Linked DNA regions of Homo sapiens: all the other regions are linked to region 1. Evidence: promoter capture Hi-C in 16 types of primary human blood cells and fetal thymus (Javierre and others, 2016). All regions are on one chromosome and are shown on one strand. Each heading gives the region's core, a stretch centred on a gene start or on the middle of the fragment in contact. The rest is flanking DNA. Distances are from core to core; before and after follow the strand shown.

Region 1 (4,731 bases), core at 1,184-3,683:
ACCTCCAACCTGTCCAGCAATACATTTAGAAGAAACAGGATTAGGGAAGACTCTGGAAGCAAAGAAGGCTTTATTAAACATAACCATGATCCATAGCTGGAGTATACATAGGAAATTTGGTAACTTGGATAAGGCAAAGTCTTTTCCCTTTAGGAGCCTGTACTTTAGTGGGTGAGGAAGAACCTTCTGAAAGAAAATGATTTCAGCAGCAGTATAAAAGAAAGTGGGTCACCTGTATGAGCAAACTAACAAAGCAGATTTAATGTAAGTGCCCAAGAGTTCCAAAACAAGGGAATCAGTAAGAGTTCTGGAGAAGGCCACCTTGGGGATACTTGGTGCGGTGTGGGGGTGGATGTAGGTTTATTCTGGGAATCGAATAACATGGTAAATATGTGACTGTAGGATGACTGGCTGTGATTTGCAAGGAAAAGAAATTTGCAAAGACCCAAGAATGGTATCTGCTAAATTGCATGTGCAAGGGTGGTCATGGTGAAAAGGAAAGTTTGGGCTAGAATAAGAGTAATAAAATGAGAAGTCAGGGAAGTACCAAGCATTTGAATGCTATAAAAATGCTATAGCAGTTGAATTCTATACAAATTTAAATTATGGAAATTTGAAATGTTATTAAGTATTTAAAAAGTCTCACTTTATATGTAAAGTTTGAAATGAAGCCAATTCTTGAAAGCTGCGGAGAGAGAAGGAGGCAAAGCGAGCATAATTTCAGCCTGTATGAATTAATTATAAATTCTATCATGCTATTTCCACATGGTGGCACCACTTTGGTGAGCACGTAAAGTACCCACTTTTCTTTATCAAGATGAGATTTGAATGGGTCCAGTTTTGAGTTGTGAGAAGTCTTTATTCCCTCAGGTAAAAGGCAATCCCTTGTGCCTGATGACGCTAATGACAGCATAACTGCTAGACTCTGTTCTCCTCCCTTCACAGCTCTTCCTTTTGTTGCATTCTCTTCCCCCAGTGGCTTTTCTTGCACACTAAGAAGAAGTGTTCTCCTCGTCCTTTTCCCTCCCTCCCGCAAATCCCATCAGCGTCTCTTTCTCAATCCCTCTCCCCTTATCTTCTCAGTAATTAGAGGCTCAGGGACAGAAAATGCACCAGCACGGGCATGGTGGCAGGCTCCTGTAATTGCAGCTACTCGGGAGGCTGAGGCAGGAGAATCGCTTGAACTCGGGAGGCGGAGGTTGCACTGAGCTGAGATTGTGCCATTGCACTCCAGGCTGGGCAACAGAGCGAGACTCTGTCTCAAAAAAAAAAAAAAAGAAAAGAGAAGAAAAGAAAATGAACCAGCAGACGGGACCAACTGCTAGCCTTCAAGGCCATTACCTTTACCAAGGAGGGTACCATGCTCGTGGCTGAGGAGCCAACAGGAGGAAGATGAGGTGGACGATGTGCCAGCCACTGTAGGCCCTGTCTCAGGGGGAGCTCTTTGGAAGGAGGAGAGCCTGGTCCTCTTTCTCTGACTGCTCCACTTCCTGTAGCAACTTGTAGAGGGGTCCTGGAGTGCTTGCATAATATGGAGCTTCTTTGGGCCCAGTCAGCTTCAAGCTGGGTCTGAAACAATGATACCAAAAGGAAGAGAAGCCATAGATTCCCAACAGGAATGAGGCATTGATCATCACATGCCAGCAGAAGAAGGTGGTGACAAACATGATGTCACTGATGTCATCGTCCTGCCATGGGTAGCCAGAGACGGGTCTGTATAGAATAAAGCCTGCCTGCATCAGCCAGGAGCCCATCATCAGAATCAGAAAGGTCTCCATCAGCTGGAGATGACACATGTTGGGAGCCCACAGCTCTGCAGTCAACACCAGCAACAGCAGGAACACCACCAAGATGAGCAGAGAATAAACGTGCAGCTCCACCCCTTCTGAATCTTTAACATGTGACACCATCAGCAGCAGGAGCTCGTAGATGATCAGGACCAGGGTACCTTTTTCTAGGCCCACACACCTCTGAGGCAGCACATTCTTGCTCATGAAGTCCACACAGCCATTAAGAGTGAGGAGGATGAACATGGTGAGGTGCTGCCACTCTTTGGGGTACATGAACCTTGATGGCACTTGCTTCCTCATGAGCACCATCCCGCCATCAAGACAGAGAACCACATAAAATGTTAAGAGGGAGCCAGTCACTATCTTTAGTAATCCTCCATAGGCTATTTTCCACAGCCTGGCACATCTTTGCTTATTCCTGGGAGAGCACAAAGGATACAGGAGACAACCTTTGAGTATCATGCCCTTGGAGACCACTGTGGCCTGATATAGTCCATAAGAGAAAAGAAATAGCCCCAGTTAAAAATGGCCAATGGACTTTCCCATGGAATACAGGCCTGTCCGACTGAAGCGTGAAGAGCAATACTCAGGACCTCTCTGCTCTCCTCTCCCTCACAGGCCTCTCGAGTTCTGGGCCTATATATACAGAGCTAAGTTCTACCTACTTTTATCATCTCCTTCTGCCCACTGCTCTCTCACAGACTGGAAAGTTCTGGACAGGAGCCTAGGTTTTTAGTGAGGTGGGTCTCATTGTTCCATTTCATTCCAGTACACTGGGAACTAATTGAGTTCTGCCAAAGTAGAAACATAAATATTTTTTAGTATGCACCTGTGGGAATTTGTGCTCTCAGGAGCTCTGCTTTTGGACCCTTGAGGACCTTCTGGTTACACTTGTCCCTCTCTCTCATGGCTTGCTTCCTTCTGCCCCTGTTCAATGCTCGGAGTAGAAAAAGAGAGGTGCCTGAGCACGGAGATTATCCAGAGAAGACCCGGGTTACTCACAAACCTTAATGCATCCTTTAAGACTCCTTACTCGGACAGGCATGGTGGCTCAAGCCTGTAATCCCAGCACTTTGGGAGGCCAAGGCAGATCTCGAGGTCAGGAGTTCGAGATCAGCCTGGCCAACATGGTGAAATCCCATCTCCACTAAAAATACAAAAACTAGCTGGGCATGGTAAAGAGTGCCTGTAATCCCAGCCACTTGGAAGGCTGAGGCAGGAGAATTACTTGAACCCGGGAGGCGGATGTTGCAGTGGGCCAGGATCATCTCACTACACTCCAGCCTGGGTGACAGAGCGAGACTGTCTCAAAAAAAAAAAAGACTCCTTACTCATATGTTGGGTCATATACTGAGAGCAAATACATTCTTCCTAGACATAAAAGTTTATAAACGTTTGGATGTGTGCTCATATATATAGATACTGAGCTCTTGTCCTCTTCATTCTTCTGTAACAGTTTTTGGGGATCACAAAGAAAGCAGCTCAATTGCCCCAAATTATCTTTCCAAAGAACAGTAGATGAATGTAAAATGTCACCTTTTGAGATCAATTTTGGAATGTTAAGGTATAATTTTTTATTAAAATGCAGATATGTTGAGATAAGTAGATCCAACAAACTGCTTATATTTTAATGTGAATTAGGTCCTCAACTTTATTCTCTCTTTAATTATCATTTACTATGTGTCTAACACATATAGGCAGAAAGAGTTCTAAGCACTAGGTAGCAGCCAGCTGCATATGAGGGGTTGCATCCAAGGCAAGAGTCTTCATTTATTTATTTTTATTTCTATTTTTATTTTTATTTTTAGACAGTGTCTCGCTTTGTTGCCCAGGTTGCAGTGCAGTGGCTTGATGACGGCTCACTGCAGCCTCAACCTCCTGAGCTCAATCAATCCTCCTGCCTCAGCTGCTGAGTAGCTGGGACAACAGACATGAGCCACCACATCCAGCTATTTTTTGTAGAGATGAGGTCTCACTACATTGTCCATGCTGGGTCTCAAACTCCTGGGCTCAAGTGATCCACCCACCTCAGCCTCCCAAAGTACTGGGATTACAGGCGTGAGCCACCGTACCTGGCCCCATTTATTTATTTATTCATTATTTTTTATTTTTTAAAATGAAAGCACATTTATTAAGAAAAAAAGGAATAAAAGAATGGCTACTCTATAGGCAAAGCAGCCCCCATTTATTTTTTTTATAAAAATTAATGTCTATATAGCCCCTCCTTATCCATGGGTGATACTTTCTAAGACTCCCAGTGGATGCCTGAAACCTGGGATAGGTTAGTACTGAACCCTACATATACTGGTTTCCCCATACATGTATACATACCTATAATAAAGTTTAGTTTACAAATTAGGCACAGCAAGAGATTAGCAATAATAACTCAAAATAAAATAGAACAATTATAAAATGATGCTGAAATAAAAGTGTGAATATAATTTCTCTCTCTCTCTCTCAAAATACTATAATATTTTCAGACTGCAGTTAACTGTGAGTAACTGAAACCTAAGAACATGAAACTGCAGGTAAGGGAGGACTACTGTATTTAAAGTGTACCACATTTTTTGTTTGTTTGTTTTTTGTTTTGAGACTGAGTCTGTCTCTGTTGCCCAGGCTGGAGTGCAGTGGCACGATCTCAGCTCACTGCAACCTCTGCCTGCTGGGTTCAAGCAATTCTCCGGACTCAGCCTCCCGAATAGTCGGGACTACAGGTGCATGCCACCACACCGCTTAAATTTTCTATATTTTTAGTAGAGATGGGGTTTCACCATGTTGGTCAGGCCGGTCTCGAACTCCTGACCTCAGGCGATCCACCCACCTTGGCCTCTCAAAGTGCTGGGATTACAGCCATGAGCCACCATGCCCAGCTGAGGTTCATCCATATTGTTGCAAACAGCAGGACCTCCTTCTTTTTTAAGGCTGAATAATATACCATTAT
Region 2 (4,731 bases), core at 1,486-3,985, 400 kb after region 1:
GAGTTGAACCAGGTGGTCTGCCTATGGAACTGAGGCTGTTAACCAGTCTGCTCTGTTGCTTCTTGTGGCCCATCCAGAGTCTTTTACACTGATTATGGGCAGGTACACTCTCTGCCAGATGGTGAGAGATCCTTTGGCCCCAAATGAGTGGTGTGAGTTGGACTCTTCCAGCAGTGCGCTACCCATCTGTGGAAGCCATCATCCAGTCACAGTCTGAACACCTCGTTCAGTCACCCACATATTCTTCGCTCTTGAATTGAACACCTGGTGTCAAGCAGAGGGCTCACTGCAGAGAGCAAAGGCAAATGAAACATCCCTGTCCTGGGAGCCTGCTGTAGTGGGGAAGAGGGAGGTGAATATGCAGTCTACATGGTTAACTAGAACTAGGAAAACTGGACAAAACTGGGCAAAATTAGGATATAAAAAGATAGGTAAATCTGAAGGTAGTTATGTAAATCATGATGAAACCTTAAGACAGGCTTGTTTTAGGTGAGATTCTAAGAATGAAGACAATGGAAAGAGAAAATGTCCCCTTTTATGACCATATTTCAGTTTAAGTAATAGTACAGTTGACCCTTGAATTACGTTGATTTGAAGTGTGCAGGTCCATTTACACAGATTTTTTTCAACCAAATACGGATAGAAAATCAGTATTTGCAGGATGCAGAATTCTCATATGCCAGGCTTGGGGCTGACTGTGTGACTTGAGTAGGCATGGATTTTGGTATACACGAAGGTCCTGGAACTGATCTTCTGTGTATACTGAGGCATGACTATAATTCACTGTATGTTTTACTTACCTGAGTTAGGTTCAAGCTCTTTCTTGGGTCTGCTGCTGTTAACCTCTATCCTTTGAGGTGTTAGATTGCTTCCATCATCTGTATAGCTAAAATGGGAGACTGTCCACGTAGTATTTTCTCAAGTCTACCCTCTCCTGTCTTAAAGTTTCCTCCTCAATAGAATTAAGCACTAAAATTTTACCATCTTGTACTTGCTCTGTGTGTTTGTGTACTTGTAAGCACATTTTACAGTTCTAAACTAGAAATGGACTTTGCCTGGGAGTTTTATCATTGACATTCCTTGAAGAAAGAGAGAAATTACATTGTATGTTTTCCAGACCTACCAGCAGCTCAATGGCCTTCCCAAAGAAGAAACTTCAGGGTCTTGTGGCTGCAACCATCACGCCAATGACTGAGAATGGGTAACTATCATTTGGGGCCTTGAGGGGATCAGTTCTCATTCAACCAAAAAGGAGAGAAGTTCTTTGTAACAACAGTCACTTAAGACCCTGCACCTCTGTAGAACTGTTGCCAAAAGGCAGCTTCTGTCTGTCATCCCTCTGCACTGTCTCTGATCCCCAAGTCTGAGGAGGCATTATATCTCTGACCCCAAAGTCAGAGAAGCACTATATCACCTTGCAGAAAGGGAGAAGGTGAGAAATGGCAGCTTGCCTTTCTCCCAGTGTCTGTAGCACCACAGAGCAAATTCTCCTTGGATTTCACCACAGCCTTGGCCTTTCTAAACAGGGCCAGTAGCATTGGATGAGAATCCCATTTTAGCATAATTGGATATCAAGCACTGACCTAGGCCCTCTCAGGATGCTGTCTCTGGACGTCAGCATGATTCCACTTCAGGCTGTTCATAGACTTGATAAAAATGTCCTACCCTGAGGAAAGTGGGAGGTTATCTGCAAGATGGACTCTTTTTTCCTGTTTACAGCCTCATTTCAACATTGACTAGATGTTGGGCAGCGGGGGAAGGGAAGTAACAACAGTCCGTTGTTGACTAATCATTACCCCAAGCAAGTATTTTGACCTCCAGATGAATACAGTGGCAGTCCTTCTGCTAAAAAATCAGATAACAAAAAGGCCCTGTGACATAGGGAGCCATGCACTGTGTATAACTCCTCCTTGAACATCACCCCTGACAAAAGAGAGTTCATCCACCTCCTGGATCTATATGTTTTTGACCTGTCAGAGGAGTCAGGCTGCCAAAAAGTTAGAATGCTGGCTTATTTAAGCTTCTCCTTTCTTTCTATGTAATATTATAATAATAATCATACCTACATAATGAATTATAAGCATTAAATGAGATAATTCATACAACAGTGCTTGGCACAGGGTCAATACGCACTTAGGTCAAAAAGTTTGAACTGCCTTTATGTCATAAGGCAGAGGCAAAAGGAAGATGTATTTAGTACACCTTTTACAAGGGACTTTCTTTTTGGTCTTCTGTTGCTGAATTTATAAACGTTCATCTTACCCTTTTAAAGGAGATGAAATTTCTCATGTCTTTTAGTATTCTCCTTCAAAGTTGGCCATTTTGCAGTTCTACCTTAGAGACTCTCCAATGAGTCCAAGACTTCTGGCTTCTAAGATCCATGAAAAATCACGTCCTTACTAGGTCTAAATAAGATTCTTGCTGATACGGCATTTAGATTACTCAGCTGGTTAATAATAATTTTTTTTCTGTTACTTCCCCTTTCCACAAGTTTTAAGAAAGACTGGCATCAGCTGTTTCTCAATGCATCAGTCACTTGTTCGCAGATCAAACAGAAGACATGTGATTGCATGAATCGGCAGGATTTACTTCCTGTTACAGAGTGAGATCCTTTCTGTAATCTCCTAACACTGCATCTGGTCCATACTACTTTAACCTTTTAATAAGACCCCTCTTATCCTGGAAGTGGCTTCTTAAAACAGTCTTGTTTGTTCATCAGGGACCCACGGACAATGTCAGTGTGTTCTTCCTCCCTGTTTTGCCGTTTTCCTGGAAGGCCAGATCCCATGATAGAGATAACTAAAATGACTTTTTCTGGATCTTTTTCCGTTTCCCAAAAATCTGTGGTCCTGCTGCATCCATTTTACTATTTTCTCATCAATTCTGCGTTTTTCTTCTAGGAACCTTACTTTCCTAAGGTGTGAAATCAAAAAAAAAAAAAAAAAAAAGAATGCATTATGTGTAGGCTCTTTAAGAAATAAATAGTGTAGGTCAGTGTATAGCACAGAGTAGGCATGTGAGCCATGTTAGTTCCCTTTTCTCCCACCACCTGCTTCATCAAACATTCCTGTAGGTATAAAGTAGCTTTGGAACACCCACCAAGAACACGTAGGCTTTAATGTACTTACCCACAAGGGAATCTGCACTTCTGGCATGTTTCTAAGACATGAGATGGAAGGAAGGGGCACATGGAATCTAATACCTGGAAATACTGCCAGGTGACCTGCCATTGTGGGAGTTCTCCTAACCTGGCATGTACATATACATATCCTCCATAATTCTGAGTGGCTGAACAAGGACTATTTCCCTATATCCTTTTTTCTTCTCAATTCCAATGAAAGCTCAGTAACAATTCAGCTTTCTGCATATAAGTTGATGTCCTGGAGTAGGGTAGCTGGCAGAAAGAACATGGGTAAGTAGATCTTAGTGAAATGATGTGAGTCCTGGATCCCAAGCTTTGCCACTAGTTAGCTCTCCGACCCTGGGGAGATCTTGTCACCTTTTGAGAGCTCTCTCGGCCGGGCACGGTGGCTCATGCCTGTGATCCTAGCACTTTGGGAGGCCGAGGTGGGCGGATCACAAGGTCAAGAGATCGAGACCATCCTGGTCAACATGGTGAAACCGCCTCTCTACTAAAAATACAAAAATTAGCCTGGCGTGGTGGCGCACACCTGTAGTTCCAGCTACTTAAGAGGCTGAGGCAGGAGAATCGCTTGAACCTGGGATGCAGAGGTTGCGGTGAGCCAAGATCATTCCACTGCACTCTACCCTGGGCAACAGAGTGAGAATATGTCTCAAAAAAAAAAAAAAAAAGCTCTTTCATATTCTCCAAAGGAAGTTCAACCACATTATCTCTATGACCCTTTCCAACTCTTAAGAGTCTGCAGTCCTCTCATGTCATTGGGGATATTGTGGGGATCACCATTAAATAAGAATGTATAAAGTACCTATAATTCCAGTCCATCGTCCACACTGTAGCTCAGTGAGCTTCCTAGTAAATAAATCTGATCATGTCACTCTCCTCTTTAGGAATCTTGACTCTCTTTTGTCTAAGCCTTGCTACCCATCATATGGCCCATGGACCAGTTGCTCCACCACCATGGGAACTTGGTAGAAATGCACAAGCTCGGGCTGTATCATACTACAGATCAGTCCTGCATTTTAACAGTGTCCCAGATGATTCTTTAGCGCATTAAAGTCTGAGATGAGCCGGTCTAAAGATTAAAGCCCAGACTCCCTGGGATGGCATAGGAAGTCCTCACAGTTTACCTTTCCTGCTTCATTTCTTTGTCACCATACCTCTTCTGCCTTTCATGCCTTCACTCATTCTCTTTCCTCTGCCTTTTTCTACCACCATCTTCTTCTTTCTTGCTCCACTTGAACACTTCTACTCATCTATCAAAACCATCCTTAGAAATTCTTCCCCAATTCTCTTAAAAGGAGTTAGATGACCCTTCTATAGCACCCTGTCCATACTCTTCCCCTGTGATCCCATAGCACCCTTTTTGTATTGCATCAGAATTATTTGTTTATTATTACAATAACTTTTTGTTACTTGTCTATGTCTTCCAGCAGGCTTTGAGCTGCTTAGCCCTGTTCAATAGATATTGAATGCCAATAATATACAAGAACTGAGAAATTATCTTATTTATCTTATATCTTAAGCATGTGGCATAGTTGTGGTAGCTTTTGTTATTTTATGAGTGAATATACTGCAGGAATTACTAGTGC
Region 3 (4,731 bases), core at 995-3,494, 330 kb before region 1:
AGAATTGGACAGGAACTCAGTACACAACCTTGAGTCAGAAAGGCCTGGCTTTAATCCCATTTCTGTTTGTTTGATGATCTTGGTCCATTTACTTAACTTCTTTGAGCCTCATGCTCCTCACCCATAAAATGGGAATAAGAATAATTTCATGATAGGGTTGTAAAATAATCTGAAACCACATTTTAAAAGCATTTGGTCTAGTGTTAGCTGTATAGTCATTTTTCAATAAATTATAAGCCTTATTATTTTTATCCTAGAGCTATTGGGAGCTTGCTGATACCTTTGCTCCATCCCTGTTCTTCCAGAATGCTAGCCCTTAATTACTCTGCTTCCAGAAGGGTGCCATTCTCTGATTCTGGTCTCCTAGCCCCAAACATTCCCACTGAGAGACTGACCAAGCAGCCTTTTTTGAGGCCAATAACGTTCCTAGAGCAGTGATGTCATAAACCTGGGTCTGTCATCGCGTGCTACACTTGGCACACGTGGCAATCAGTGACAGAGTGGAAGGTTTGTGCTCTGGATGGGATGACATTATAAGGCAATGACATCACATGTCAGTACTTCCTGGCACCCCCTGCAGAACAGTGCCAGGTAGAATGCCTTCTCTTCACTAACTCAACACCACCTGCCCCAGTGAAGACTGCACAGTGTAGTGATGGAGCATACAGGCTCTGACATCAGGCTACTTGGGTAAATCCTATTTCTACACCCTGCATGACTGTGAGCAAGTTGCTTAACCTTTCTGTGCCCCAGTTTCTTTGTCTGTAAATTATGGCTAATAATAATATTTAATATCTAGCTTACAGAGTTGTTGTGGGGTTTAAATGAGATGATGTGCTTTGCAGAGTACAAGGGATGGACAAGTGCCCAATCAGTATTAGCTAACAATATAATATGGGGTAGGAAGGCACCTCTACCTCCTGTCTAAACAGCAGAGAACCCAGAGAACCCACCTCTGGTCTCCACTGGAACCTTTTCCTCAAACTTTCTGAAGCCCTTACTCAGTATAACCAGGTCCTACTGAGGCAGTGGTCTCTGGAGCCACTTCTGGAGCTCACCAGAAGACCAGCCCTTTCCAAGCTTCTCAAGACCTACATTGCACTATAGTGACCCTGCCAGATGACCCTGGAAGCCTCTGGCCCAGGCCGAGGGAGCATAAGCTGCAAGCAGTGGGTTGGGCTTCACTGCAAGCAGTTGGATGGGTTCATGGAACCCTCAGGGTACAAGAGGCTGAAGATTCAAATTGTCTACTGACATAGCAGCATATTATCTTGGCCCACACTGACTACCACATCTTTCAAGGCCACAGAGACTTCAGGCCTCCACTCCTCCACATTCCACCTCAGCCTTGGGACCTTGTAGAAAACTGAGGAAGAACACCACAAATGAGACTTCTGGGAATCTTCTATACCTTAGGTTTACGTTCTGACTTTACTGGTCCTTCTGGGCTCAGGGATAGAAGGTCTGGGGAGGTTAGAAGGGAAGATACTGCTTATCTTTACGTAATAAACACATTGAAAAAGAACCCTCTGATCTCTTGTATCAGTGGGAATCCCTTGAACTGAGGCTTACCAGAGCCCAGGGGCATGATGAAGCTGTTGGAAATTTAAAAACAAAGGCATCGACCTCAGTATTTTTAATGAAGAGATCTAAGAAATTATCTAGTGCAGCCCCTCTGTTTTACTGGTGTTGAGATTGAAGTATTCATTTATTTGTTCGATCATTCATTTACTCACCAAACATTTGTTGAGCTTTACTATGTCAGTGTTTTTCAGACTGCAGGACACAATCTGTGAATATGACAGGGAATCACTTTAGTGAGCCACAACCAACATTCTTTTTTAGAATAGAACAGAAGACAGTAGAATATATCAAAGTGTCTCACACATAAAAGTATAGTTTCATGTAATTTTTGTTTTAGGTTTATAAACATAGTCTGGGGGTATATAATGAAGACTGTATCTCATAGTCTGGTTTGCTCTGATTCTTGGTCAAACACAGTTGAAAAACATTGTACATTGCATCAACCCTGCTGTACATAAGAATAATCTGGGGCCAGGTGCAGTGGCTCATGCCTGTAACCTGTAGTCCCAGCACTTTGGGAGGCTGGGGCGGGAGGATCCCTTGAGCCCAGGAGTTCGAGACCAGCCTCGGCAACATAGGGAGACCTCACCTTCACAAAGAATTTTTAAAAATTAGCTGGATGTGGTGGCACACACCTGTGGTCCCAGCTACTCAGGAGGCTGAGGCAGGAGGATCAGTTAAGCTCAGGCTACAGTGAGCCATGATCAAACCACTGCACTCCAGGCTGGGCAACAGAGTGAGACCGAGTCTCAAAGGAAAAAGAAAAGAAAATTTTCCTCTCTGTTCTTAGAAGAAAGAAAGAAAGAAGGGAGGAACAAAGGAAGGAAGGAAGGAGAGAGGAAGGGAAAGGCAGGGGGCTCGCCACCGTCCAGAATTCTCCCCCATATTCCCTGATCCTTGCTTACCGCCTTGGGCAGGTGCTGTCTCTTTCTCTCTGGACCAGGCTGGAGCCTCCCGGCTCTCTGGCTCCCCCTTTGGCTCCCTGGAACATTGCCGCTGGGAGCCTGGCTTCTGACACAGCTGCGGAGCTCCTGGCTCCGCTGTCCTCCCAGGTCACACCACCTACATGCGCTGGCCAGGGTACAAGGGGCCTTTTCTTTCCAAGGCCCCCATCAAAACCACACGCCTCTCCTCGCAGCTGTCTAGCTCGGCTGCCTGAACACAGAGGTAATTCACAGGAGATGTGGAAGGGCATTTGAGGTTTCCATAAAAACATACTCCCTTTTCCTCTTTCAACTGCTGCACTGAACGTAACCAGAGAGGACCTCTCTTCATAGCACTCTGGCCACGGGTGTGAAGCAAGTTTCTTGAAAGAAATTTCCTATAGGGCTGCTGGAGTGCGGCATCCCTCTGTAGGTGTGGATTCTCCTGGCAGGATGAGCTGTGGCCTGGTTTTGCCTATATTGAACAGTAAGCATGTCTATTCTTTGAAAAGACCATGAAAACCTCTGGCAAATCTAATGGGGAGTGGGGGCTGGGTGAGTTAAAAAGAAATAAAATATAAGTAAGGTATAAAAATATAAAGGCATACTTTGAGCAATTTTATGTCATCATGTTTGAAAACATCAATGAAGCAAATTACATTCTTGTACATATGTAGAATTGAAATCTTACATTTGGAATAAAAAGTATCAACAATCTGCTAATAGCTGGGCCTCATCAGATGAAAGTGCCTGGGCCAGACCCAGTCCTTGGCCTTGCAGAGACAAAAACTCTATTTTGACACGCTTCCCCCACCCACCTGTCACCACCTCCACCCCAGGTGCCCAGGCTAGTTAGGGAAGGGCAGAGGTGTGAGGGCTCCAGGCATGGCTACTCTGGAGAGCAAGCTTCTGCTCTTCAGCCAGGTTTTCTCACTTAGGAGGGGAGGGAGGATGAGATATGGCAGAGGCCCTTTGCACAGTGATGTGCAGTCCTTCTTTACCAGGAAAAACGGGACTGCCGAGGATCCCAGGACATTCCTGAAGGCTCACCAGCCTGGCTCTATGCATAGGACAGTGTAGACAAGTTGAACTACAGCACCAAGAGCACTGAATCAGAGCTGGGGCTGGTATCAGGAGCCTGGTGCCTCTTCTGCACCCCAAGGACACGGCTGTGTAACCGGACCCAGGTTCAGCTGCTTGCTGCTGCAAAGCCAGAGGCAAGGGGTTCTGGGAGGAAAAGCAGAGCCAGCAAACCCAGAAGATGGCAAGCTAGCATTCTAAAGTATCATCTTACATTTTATAACTTACCATAGAGTTTTTAAAGGGATATGTGGTATAGGGGACATGTGGGAGTGGTACAGGGTACTGGACTTGTGTGTCTTGTTCCGTTGGCTCTCTTGGTTAATTGCTCATCAGGAGGTCTGGTTGGTATTAGCTTGATTTTGGCTCAATTGTTCACAACTCCCCCTAAGTGGGAGGAGTGGGGCACCTGGATTGTTTCAATATTAGCCTCTGGGATTTCTTAGGTAAGAGCATAATTAGATAAGCATGCACTGGTGAGGGGATTGTCTAGAGAGGGAAGGAATGAAGGGGTAAGAGGGAAGGGAAGGAAGAAAAGGAAATGGGTGATTTTTAAAACAGAGGTTCCTGGTTATAACTGCACAGGGCCCTGTTACCTGTGGCTCCAGCTGCAGGTTTGCTCTCACACAACCTATATGGGCAGTACTGGGGATAGACCTAAGTTCTCGCTTTGCCAAGTCCCTTTTCCTGGACCCTGGCAGGCCATTCTCCTGTTGACACATCTTCAACTGTAAAGGTTGCCCCTTAGTTAGTTAGCACCCAGCTATAGTTTCATCCCAGTCCCAGTGACACTGTTTCAGCACCTTCAGTGGACCTGGGGGCTTCCTGAGCCTGTTCAGCTCTGTGTTTCTGGGCTACACACCCACATCGGCTCCTTGGGTGGTTTACCCTCACCCATTAGGATTCTTCCTCTTAAGAGGTGAAGACATCCCCAAGCTTCAGAACAGCCTTACTGTAGCCATCTGCTTAGTATAGGTTGAGCACCACTAACCTCAAAATCCAAAGTCTGAAATGCTCCAAAATCCAAAACTTTCAGAACACTGACATGATGCCAAAAGTGAAAAATTCTACACCTGACCTCATGTGACAGGTCATAGCCAAAATGCAGGTGCACAACACACAGTTTATTCAGAATGCCTCCTCA
Region 4 (4,731 bases), core at 728-3,227, 310 kb before region 1:
AATTGAGGGAAAAAAAGGTTTGTAGTCTGTCCTCTTGGGGGCAGCAAAGAGGTGCATTAAAAATGTAGCAATTAAGTTTCTATTTAAAAGGCCAGCAATTCACATCTTGCTCATCCTTTTACCTGGAATCTTCTCCATTTTTCAACTGGTTAATGCTGGCTTATCCTTCAGGACTCAGCTCAGACATCACCGCAGATAGAAGTGACTCATATTCATGAATCACCCCCACTTCTCACTCCCTTCTGCAAAAGTGGGGCTTTGCTTTATTGTCCTCTGTATTGCCAGCCCCCTCATATCAAGTGCTCCACAAACACATGCTGACTTGCACTGAATTCAAGGCAAAGTGGTGGGTAAGTGAGATCCACTTGTTGACTAGTGGCTTCCCAGGGAAGATAGACTTAAACAAGAGGCACCAAAAGAGGCGCGTGTTTGGGGGACATTCCACTTCCTAGAATAAGATATTCAAACGCAGAGCCAGAGAAGGAGGACAGGGAGGCCTCTCCCGGCTCCCTGCCTCTATTTACACCAGGCATTCAGAGTGGGGGACAGTTCTAAGACTGACCAGGAGGTGGCAGCGTTGCCCCTTGGATGAGGGACTCCCTTCAGCAGGACAGAGGCAAAGGACACCGCCTCTCTAGCTCTGGGAGGAAGTCACCAGGAGGCCTCCCCTAGGCCAGTCTCAGAGGGCCAGGATGCCAGCTGCCTTGCACACAGTAGGGATCTATAGCCATGTGTGGATCCAACGTGGTTTTGTTTGTTTGTTTTTGAGACAGAGTTTTGCTCTTGTTGCCCAGGCTGGAGTGTAGTGGTGCGATCATGGCTCTCTGCAACCTCCGCCTCCTGGGTTCAAGTGATTCTTGTGCCTCAGCCTCCTGAGTAGCTAGGACTACAGATGCCCGCCACCACATCCGGCTAATTTTTGTGTTTTTAGTAGAGACAGGGTTTCACCATGTTGGCCAGGCTAGTCTCGAACTCCTGACCTCAAGTGATCCTCCTGCCTCTGCCTCCCAAAGTGCTGGGATCATAGGCGTGAGCCACCACACCCAGCCCCACATGTTCTTATTCTAAGCTTTGCTAGGGGCTTTGCATGGGAAAGGAAGGAAGGAAGAGTGGGAGAGAGGGAGGGAGGGAGAGAAGGGACTCAGGCCTTAACCTAGAACCCCTGCATCAGAGTCTCTTGGATGGTTCCTGGGAATCCTCAGGTGATTCTGATGGAGGCAGGCACAATTCTCCCTTGTGTGACTAATTTCCCAAGGCCTCGCCTTTCAATCACAGAACTGATTTTATCCATTGTGAAAACCTAATGCAGACCCCAGCGCACGCCTCCTGCTCTCCCTCAGCTGGGAGGCTGACCGAGGTATTTTAGGCATCCCGCCAGAGATGGCTGCTAGGTTGCAAAGACAAGCAGTGCCCTCCTGGGCACAGCCCTATGCCCCCCAGTGGGCACTCCCTCTCTCCTTCTCATCCTATCTTCAGCTTTGGCATGAGTGGCTGGCCTGACACAGCCCACCTCACCCCAGCAGTGGCGCCCCAGGCTGAGCTTCAACCCAACTCTTGGGTAAGCAGCAGGGAAACTGAGGAGTATTTCACAGTTAGTCTCTGTCCCCTCTCAAACAGGCAGTATTTTCAGGAGTCCTTCGTGACATTGAGGCCTGTGGGGGACATCTTGATGTTGACTGGGGGCACACGTTGGCAGGGCTACCCCCATGTGGAAAATCTTGGCTGGGGTGGCGGGCTTTTGGTTTTAACAACAAGTGACTCAATTGTTGTCCCTTCTTCCTGCAGCCTCCCCAAGTCACTGCCCACAGATGGCCCTGGGCAGAAAGTGGTCAAAGAGAGTGAAGCCCGGGGGAGGAAAGCTCGGGTGCCCATGGCGCCCACTGGATGGCTGGCCTGGTTGGGACCCACTCTGGCGGGGCCAGCTCCTGGTGGTTCCCTGCACATCCATCCACTGTTTCCCATCTACACTCTGCCAGAAAGTCCTTCCTCTCCTGACCCCGCCATCCAAACCCTATGTGTTTCAGGAAATCATTTTTCAGATGCTACCTGGGGACTCCTGCAGCTGCTGTGCATTTTCTTGGAATCTCTCATGGAACCATGCATGATGACTGTTTCTACATCTCTGCATGGGAAGGAACTCAGGGATAGAGGGCACCCCGTTCCATCCCCATCCCAGCCCCTAGTGCAGGGGAAGAGAGCCGTGGATGTTAACTATTGTGAGTACATGACGGGAAGGAGAAGGTGGTGGCGCCTCAGGGTTGACAGGAAGGGACAGGAAGGTTTCATCATGGAGGCAGGAAGGGGGCCGGGCCCTGAAGGATGGATTCCATTTCTAGGTGAAAGTCACCAGCATGTTATCAGAGCGTCCTTCTTAAGTAGAGTCAGAGCTGCGCTATTTTGAGTGGAATGAAGGTGGTCTGTGGGTTGGAAAGGCCAGTCATGATCCCCAGTCCATTTTGTGGGTGCCCCTGGTTGATCCCTAAGACAACTTCCTGGAGTGTGTGCATTGACCACAGATGTCAGGGCCTGGGCTTCTCTCCTGAACCCAGTTCACACCAAAAAAGGACATGAAGGACAAGGACCAAGAGAGGGCTGGAGGCAGAAGTGCTCTCAGAGCGGACACAGGGTCCCACCCCAATCCTTGTGCCTGAAGCAGAGTTGCAGTGTGGCCGCTACTGGCACCAGTACAGCAAAGCAACACCCTAAAATCAAAGCGGGAACAGCAGGAGATGGAGCCCGTGTCTTTGAGGACCTCAGAGGCAGAACTTCTGGTTGGGGCCTGAGGACTTTTGCACTCTCCTGAGCACCCTTGCCTTTTCTTGCCACCGCAAGGGAGATGTTATCTTCAGACTCTGGGGCTATTGCAAGCTGCTGCTCTTCCATGAAAAGCTTGGGGCCTTTGCTCAGTGAAGTCAGGATGTTTTGAGATTACAGGGAGGGTGGAGGAAACAGGAGGGCCCACAGGGTGGGTGAAAAACCTCATTCTCCGCCCTCTCAGCTCCACCCTGCATGCACTACCAGCATTCTCAAGGCTTCCTTCTCAGTTTGTGTAAGACAAGGAAAGCCTGAACCAGGGATTCCCCTCTCAGCCACCCCAGCTGCAGCCCCTGAGGGTGGGTGTGCATGCAAGGGACAGGGTGGGGAGCCACAAGCTCATCTTCCACCCCTCCACAGCTCATCTGGCCTTGCCTCTATTGCTTGGGGAAAATGGCACCTTGAGGACAGAGTATGCCTTGCTTTCTCCTAGGAGAATGTTCTCTTTCTGTACTCGCTGATGGAGCTCTAGCTAAAAAAAGTATATTTCCCTGCCTTTTCTTTCTTCCTCCTTGAGGGCCTCTCTGTAGACTTTATCAGGCCACACTGATGAGCTCAGAACAGAAAAGTTATGGCTATATGGGAGCAGGCTCCTCCCTCATAGCTCCTGGTCAGATCTGGACATCTGGGGCAGCCGCGGATCAGAGCCCCAGGCTGGCCCTGGACCAGACCCCTGCTCCTCTGTCCCAGGCTGGCCCACTGCCTCCATGAGTCACTAAGGTAACCAGGAGGGCAACCACAGGGGAAAACAACCACCCTTATTGCCCCAGGTGGCAGTCCCAGCCCAGGGCAAAACTGGGGCATTACTTCAACTGTACCAAAGTCAGGCCTGTGCCTGGGGCTGCAGGAGGCGGCTGCAAAGAGGCTGGGCGGGGCAGCAGGAAGCCCTGTGGAACTTGCGTGTGTCCTGACTTGCCATTTCTGATGTCAGCACCTTCAGATGCCCTTTCATGGGGTAGGAACTGGGAAGGGCAGAGGTAGTAACATCTGAACAAAGCTGGGTGAATTCCCACGGAAGACGGAGCATCGAGTCGTCAATGCCTTTTGGTAAACAAGTCGCAGCTCTTCCGTCTTGGCTCATCCTCATGGGCACATCCCAGTGGTGTTCCCTGCCCACCTCTGCACCCACATTTTAAGGTGTGTAATCTGCCTCCAGCTCTGTCCTCCCCACCTCAGAGCCTTAGGATCTCTGGCTCTGACATTCAGTGCAATGTGTGCCGCCTGGTAGGCGCTCAGCGTTTTGAGTGAAAGAATAAATGTTTAGGTTTCCAGCAGCACCCCGTGCTGCTGGGATCACAGAGTGGCTGCTAAACCCAGGGTGTTGATTTGAGTGCCCAATGGGTGCTCCTCCGAAAGTAAGGGAAGTGACCCTGTGGAGCTGTGGCAGAGGTCGCATCCCCTGAGTTGCTGACCTTGCAGAGAAGCACAGGGTGCTCCTGCCTGTGGGTTGGGTGAAGCACCGTGTATATCTTTATCTCTGCTTGGGGGCCTGTTTCCTCCCCTTGACTTGTGCCTCCTCAATAGCAAGCCCGAGTCTCATTTAAGCTTTGAATTCTAGCACAGAGCTGGGCCCATCCATTAGATGAAGTGTGTTTACAAGTCTGTTCCGGAGTCGGTGGTGCTCCTGCTGCTTCACCTGGGCTCAGGACACCGAATACAAGATGCGGTTTCAGGATCTGGAATCCGCAGAGCCAGTGGGCTCCATAACCTGGGTCTGGGTGCCATGGCTAGCATCGTTGGCTGTAAGGAAGCTGTTCTGGCAGTTCTTGATGGCCGCTTCCCTAGCATCTCTGTGACAGGAGCCCTGAGAGAGGTCCTCTTCCTCCCTTTCCTTAACATCTGCCCTAGAGCTCGGCTGAGCTTCCCTGGGCCCTTGCAGCCCTGGTAGGCCTTTAGCACACAGAGTCAATATTTGTA
Region 5 (4,731 bases), core at 657-3,156, 300 kb before region 1:
GAGACGGGGTTTCACCATGTTGGTCAGGCTGGTCTCAAACTTCTGACCTCAGGTGATCCTCCTGCCTTAGCCTCTCAAAGTTCTGGGATTACAGAGGTTGCAGTGAGCCACCACTCCCAGACTAATTGGTTTAATATCCAGTAGAGCAAGTCCTCCCAGGTTTTGTTTTTTTTTTTTTTTTTTTTTTTTTTGAGATGGAGTCTCACTCTATTGCCCAGGCTGGAGTGCAGTGGCTCTATCTCGACTCACTGCAAGCTCTGCCTCCCAGGTTCACGCCATTCTCCTGCCTCATCCTCCCAAGTAGCTGGGACTACAGGCGCCCACCACCATGCCCAGCTAATTTTTTGTATTTTTAGTAGAGACGGGGTTTCACCGTGTTAGCCAGGATGGTCTCGATCTCCTGACCTCGTGATCTGCCCGCCTTGGCCTCCCAAAGTGCTGAGATTACAGGCGTGAGCCACCACTGCCAGTTTGTTTTTATTCCAGAATGTCTTGGTTGTGTTTATCCCTTTGCATTTCCATAAAAACTTTAGAATCAGCTTGTCAATTTCCACAAAAGAAAAACTGTTATTTTCTTTCTTTCTTTTTTTTGGTTGTGGCAGGGAGATTGCATTGAATCTGTAGATCAGTTTTGGGGAAAATGATGTTTTCACATTTTTTTATTCTAATTTCCATCATGATTTCTTTGAAGTTTCAAGCATATGAGGATTTTTTAGTTATCTCTTTGTCACTTTTTCCCCGGAGAAATACTTGGAATTACTTCAATATTTTGCAATTTATTGAGACTTACATTATGACCTACCATATAGTAAATTTCTGTGAATTTTCCTTGTGTGCTTGGAAAAAAATTGTACCCTGCAATTATAGTGTGCATGTCTTGTAAGTATTCTTTAGGTCAAGTGTATTTGATTGTGTTGTTCAAATCTATATGATTAATAATGTTTGTCTGCTAGTTATACCATTTGCTGTGAGAAGTATGTTAAAAGTCTACCATTTGTGATAGTGAATTTGTTTTTCTGTTTTCTTTTGTATATTTTGAGGCTATGTTAGCAGTATGTAGAAAATTAGAATTATATTTTCCTGGTGAATTCAACTTTATCATAATGAAGTAGGTCTTTCTTATCCCCAACAGTGCCTTTTTATGGTACATGTTTAAGGTTTATACCATGCTGTTTTGATATACATATACATAGTGAAATGATTACTTATAGTTAAGCAAATTAATCTATCACTGTATATGTATATACATATATGTGTATATATACATATATGTATACATATATACATATACATGCACACACATATATTACACACACATATATGTATGTTTATATACAGATGAAGTTTGATATATACAGATGAATACTGATTACACATGTATATGCATATACATGTGTGTATATGTACACATACATATACACACATATATGTATGTTTATATACAGATGAATTTTGATTATTTCACTTTTCCCATTTATTAACTTGGAAGTTACCTGTTTTTACTAATTTTACTAATTACTAGTTTTTACTAATTCTTTTAGATGTTAATTCATTGATTTCCTCTCCCAATCATTGTTATTGTGAATTTTGATTCTCTGTACATTTTAAACTCCCCATACTTTGTACTACCGTTTTGTATGGTTGATATTTATTTAGACTCAACCACATATTTATTCTTGACTTGCTTTTCATTCTTCCCTTGATCTCCAACTTGCTAACTGAAATACTTTTTTGTTTTGTCTGAAGAACTTTTTAATGTTTTCTTCAGTTATGAGTCTGCTGGTGACAATTTCCTTGGTTTTTGTTTTAATGCAGTTTTTCTTACAAATTCTTGGCTGGGTCCTGTGGCTTACGCCTGTAATCCTACACTTTGGGAGGCTGAGGCAGGAGGATTGCTTGAGCCCAGGAGTTTGAGACCAGCCTGAGCAATATAGTGTGACCCCATCCAATACAAAAATACAAAAATTAGCCAGGTGTGTTGGTGTGCACCTATAGTCTCAGACACTTGGGAGGCTGAGGTGACCCAGGAGTCAGAGGTTGCAGTGAGCCGAGATTGTGCCACTGCCTTCCAGCCTGGGCAACAGAGAGACACCCTGTCTGAAAACAAAATGAAATCAAATAACTTAAAAAAATCTTCATTCTTGATAGATTTTTAAATTCTTATCATAACATTTTAGATGGGCAGCTATTTTATTTCAGCCTTTTAAAGATGTAATTTCACTGCCTCTTGGCTTCCACTGTTGAGAAGTCAGCTCTAAGTCTTACTGTTGCTCTTTTGAGAGTAATCTGTCCCTTTTTCTCTAGTTGTATTTGAGTTTGAAAATTTCTCAGCCACTACTTCTTCAGATATTGCTTCCATTATTTCCTCCTTTTATTTGCCTGCTGATACTCTAACTACACATATACTAGATCTTCCCACTATATCTTCTACACCTCTTACCATCTCTTGTAGACTTTCCATCCTTTTCCTCTTCATGCTTTATTCTATGATTGTCTTCTGACCTATCTTCCACTTCACAAATTTTCTCTTCAGTTGGGTCTCAACAATTGCTAAAGTTATTCATTGAGTTCTTAATTTTGACTACTATATTTTTTAATTCTAGAACTTCTTTTTGTTTCTTTTATATAGTTTCTAGTTTGCTAAGTCCTTAATCATTTATTTTCTTGAAAAAATAACAGCACATGTTATATACTTCTGTTCACCTCTATGGATATATCTTCACTCTCTCCACTCTGCTGCCTCTCCAGGAACCTGATCTGCATGGACTGTATCAATTAACTTTCTTGTCCTCTGGCTTCTAGCTGTGTTTGGCTAAAGTAAAGTACCAGTAGGACCACAGGGAAGGAGGAGAGTGAGATTCGGTACTGATTTACCTGATCTCTTCCTGTGGGGTCACTGTGGGCTGGCCACATTCCCTGACCATAGACTCTCTGTCTCTAGATTCTGATAGTTCCTCCCTCCCTGTAACTCTTCAAGCCTACAGGTGGTAAAGCCTCCTCATTGTTCATAGCCCCAGAGTATTGGACCCCATCTCTCCCCATCACAACCCATACTTTTGAAAATTATTCCTTTATTAAGGAATAATATTATCCCTCATATTATCATAGTTTGATGGTTCCATCTGTGTCTGGTTGGAAATCTGACTGACACAACATGTTTATATTATAAAATGTTTTTGGTTATTTAAATAATCAGACTCTATGTGGATCTGTAAGACTTCATGTGGATCTATTTCTACTGTCCTTGTTTCTGCTATTTTATTAGTCATATTTTCCTGTTTCATGTGGCTATTTTTTTATTTTTTTAATTTTTATGTATTTACTTTTTTTGAGATGGGGTTGAGAATGGCTAATTTTTGTATTTTTGGTGGAGATGGGGTGTTGCTATGTTGCCCAGGCTGGTCTCAAACTCCTAACCTCAAGTGATTCACCCACCTTGGCCTCCCAAAGTGCTGGGATTACAGGCATGAGCCACCGTACCTGCCCTCATGTGGCTATATTTAAATTATGTGCTAATAATTGTACGTGCAGAATTGCTTATAGAAATGTATTCTTCATTGAGAAAGGACTTACATTTGCTTTTGCCAGGCAGTTGAGATTATTGTAAACTGAAGTGTCTAGGAAGCCTTATGTAGTTCAAGTTCATTCTTCTTCAGTATCTCAACTTGAAATGGGGAGATTTACCAGCAACTCTCCTCATCTTGGCAGGCCCTAGAATATAATCCATTCCCTTAATTTAGCCTCTTACCCTTTCTCCAACCCCTCATGAATTGCCAAATGCTCCCAGGATAGAGCAGCCTTATCTTCCAATTTACCTTTTTAAGCCTCCAAATTGGTTCAGTAATTATATTCTCTCTCTTGTTGGTTCTCATTTTTTTTAAAAAAAAAAAAGTTTCTGGTTATCTTCAACAGGAAAATTGCTCTGAATTAATTTTCCTTCTTCAAACTTGGCTAGTCTAACTAATTTATCTAGGGTGATGCATCTAGAATAGCTCAGATAAGCCTAGCCATAAATCCTGTACTCTTTTGTTTAACACTAAACCATCTTTAGCCTCAACTGAAAAAACTGATTGTTTAAAATTGAACCCGAATTTTGCACTGCTAGCTACAAAAGTCAAAATAATTTAATATGCAAATGTGAGTCTCTTAAGGATGTTCTCCATATCTCATTTGCTTTTATATCCTTAGCACTTAGCATAGTATGTATTCAGACAGTATTTGTAAGTAAAAGAAAGAATAAGTAAAAGGATGAAATACATAAAATTCAAATGAAGATAGTTTCTATATGGATTATATTTCTCAACCTAAATTAATCCTCATCTAGTATATCAGGTGTCTTCCTTGTTCAATTTTCCTTTTCAAGATAAAATTTTTAAATGGTATAAGTGGAACACGTCTATAAATTCCAGGCTTCCATTCTCTGCTCCCCTATCCCAAATATTACAAGAGATTATCAAGATCAAGACTAGCCTAGTTTCTTTCTAGGAGTCCCTAGGACTGGGGAAGACTATCGGATGGTGGTCCAGTGCCAAATACTAGAAGGACCTATTCCTGTCAATCCAGCTTCAACATGCCTCAAACTGGACTCAGCATCATCTCCTTTTCCCTTACTAATTTATTCTCCTTCTCTGTGTTTACTACCGTATCTGGTGTCACTGCATCATCCTCCCAGTTGCCTGTACCAGAATCCTAGGGGTTATCTCTTATTGCATCCTATCCAAATCACCAAGC

The links. Contacts are between HindIII fragments. The CHiCAGO score rates a contact against its expected background, and 5 or more counts as called.
Region 2: a fragment that was not itself captured here is called in contact with the fragment with the promoter of TEDDM1 in region 1 in 5 of 17 cell types (M0 macrophages, M1 macrophages, M2 macrophages and 2 more); the score reaches 8.0 in M0 macrophages.
Region 3: a fragment that was not itself captured here is called in contact with the fragment with the promoter of TEDDM1 in region 1 in 13 of 17 cell types (erythroblasts, activated CD4 T cells, total CD4 T cells and 10 more); the score reaches 9.7 in erythroblasts.
Region 4: a contact is called between a fragment that was not itself captured here and the fragment with the promoter of TEDDM1 in region 1, in 17 of 17 cell types (M2 macrophages, M1 macrophages, M0 macrophages and 14 more). The highest score is 70.1, in M2 macrophages.
Region 5: a fragment that was not itself captured here is called in contact with the fragment with the promoter of TEDDM1 in region 1 in 15 of 17 cell types (neutrophils, megakaryocytes, M0 macrophages and 12 more); the score reaches 9.9 in neutrophils.

Annotation. Positions count from the first base shown.
Region 1 is chr1:182,398,234-182,402,964 of GRCh38, forward strand. It overlaps TEDDM1 (transmembrane epididymal protein 1), which reads right to left and starts at 2,434. Exons shown (of 1, transcript NM_172000.4): 1 at 1-2,434. The coding sequence starts at 2,252. The coding sequence ends at 1,431. The HindIII fragment of the contact is 8,350 bases long and covers 1-4,731 here.
Region 2 is chr1:182,793,239-182,797,969 of GRCh38, forward strand. NPL (N-acetylneuraminate pyruvate lyase) reads left to right here. Exons shown (of 13, transcript NM_030769.3): 3 at 1,118-1,201. The coding sequence starts at 1,134. Among named protein-coding and RNA genes, the nearest start is that of NPL, 5.8 kb to the left of the region's middle. The HindIII fragment of the contact is 1,435 bases long and covers 2,019-3,453 here.
Region 3 is chr1:182,066,581-182,071,311 of GRCh38, forward strand. It overlaps a transcript of ZNF648 not described here. Among named protein-coding and RNA genes, the nearest start is that of ZNF648, 7.2 kb to the left of the region's middle. The HindIII fragment of the contact is 2,333 bases long and covers 1,079-3,411 here.
Region 4 is chr1:182,084,526-182,089,256 of GRCh38, forward strand. No RefSeq gene overlaps it. Among named protein-coding and RNA genes, the nearest start is that of ZNF648, 25 kb to the left of the region's middle. RefSeq lists an enhancer at 798-847. The HindIII fragment of the contact is 1,820 bases long and covers 1,068-2,887 here.
Region 5 is chr1:182,102,620-182,107,350 of GRCh38, forward strand. No RefSeq gene overlaps it. Among named protein-coding and RNA genes, the nearest start is that of ZNF648, 43 kb to the left of the region's middle. The HindIII fragment of the contact is 5,644 bases long and covers 1-4,728 here.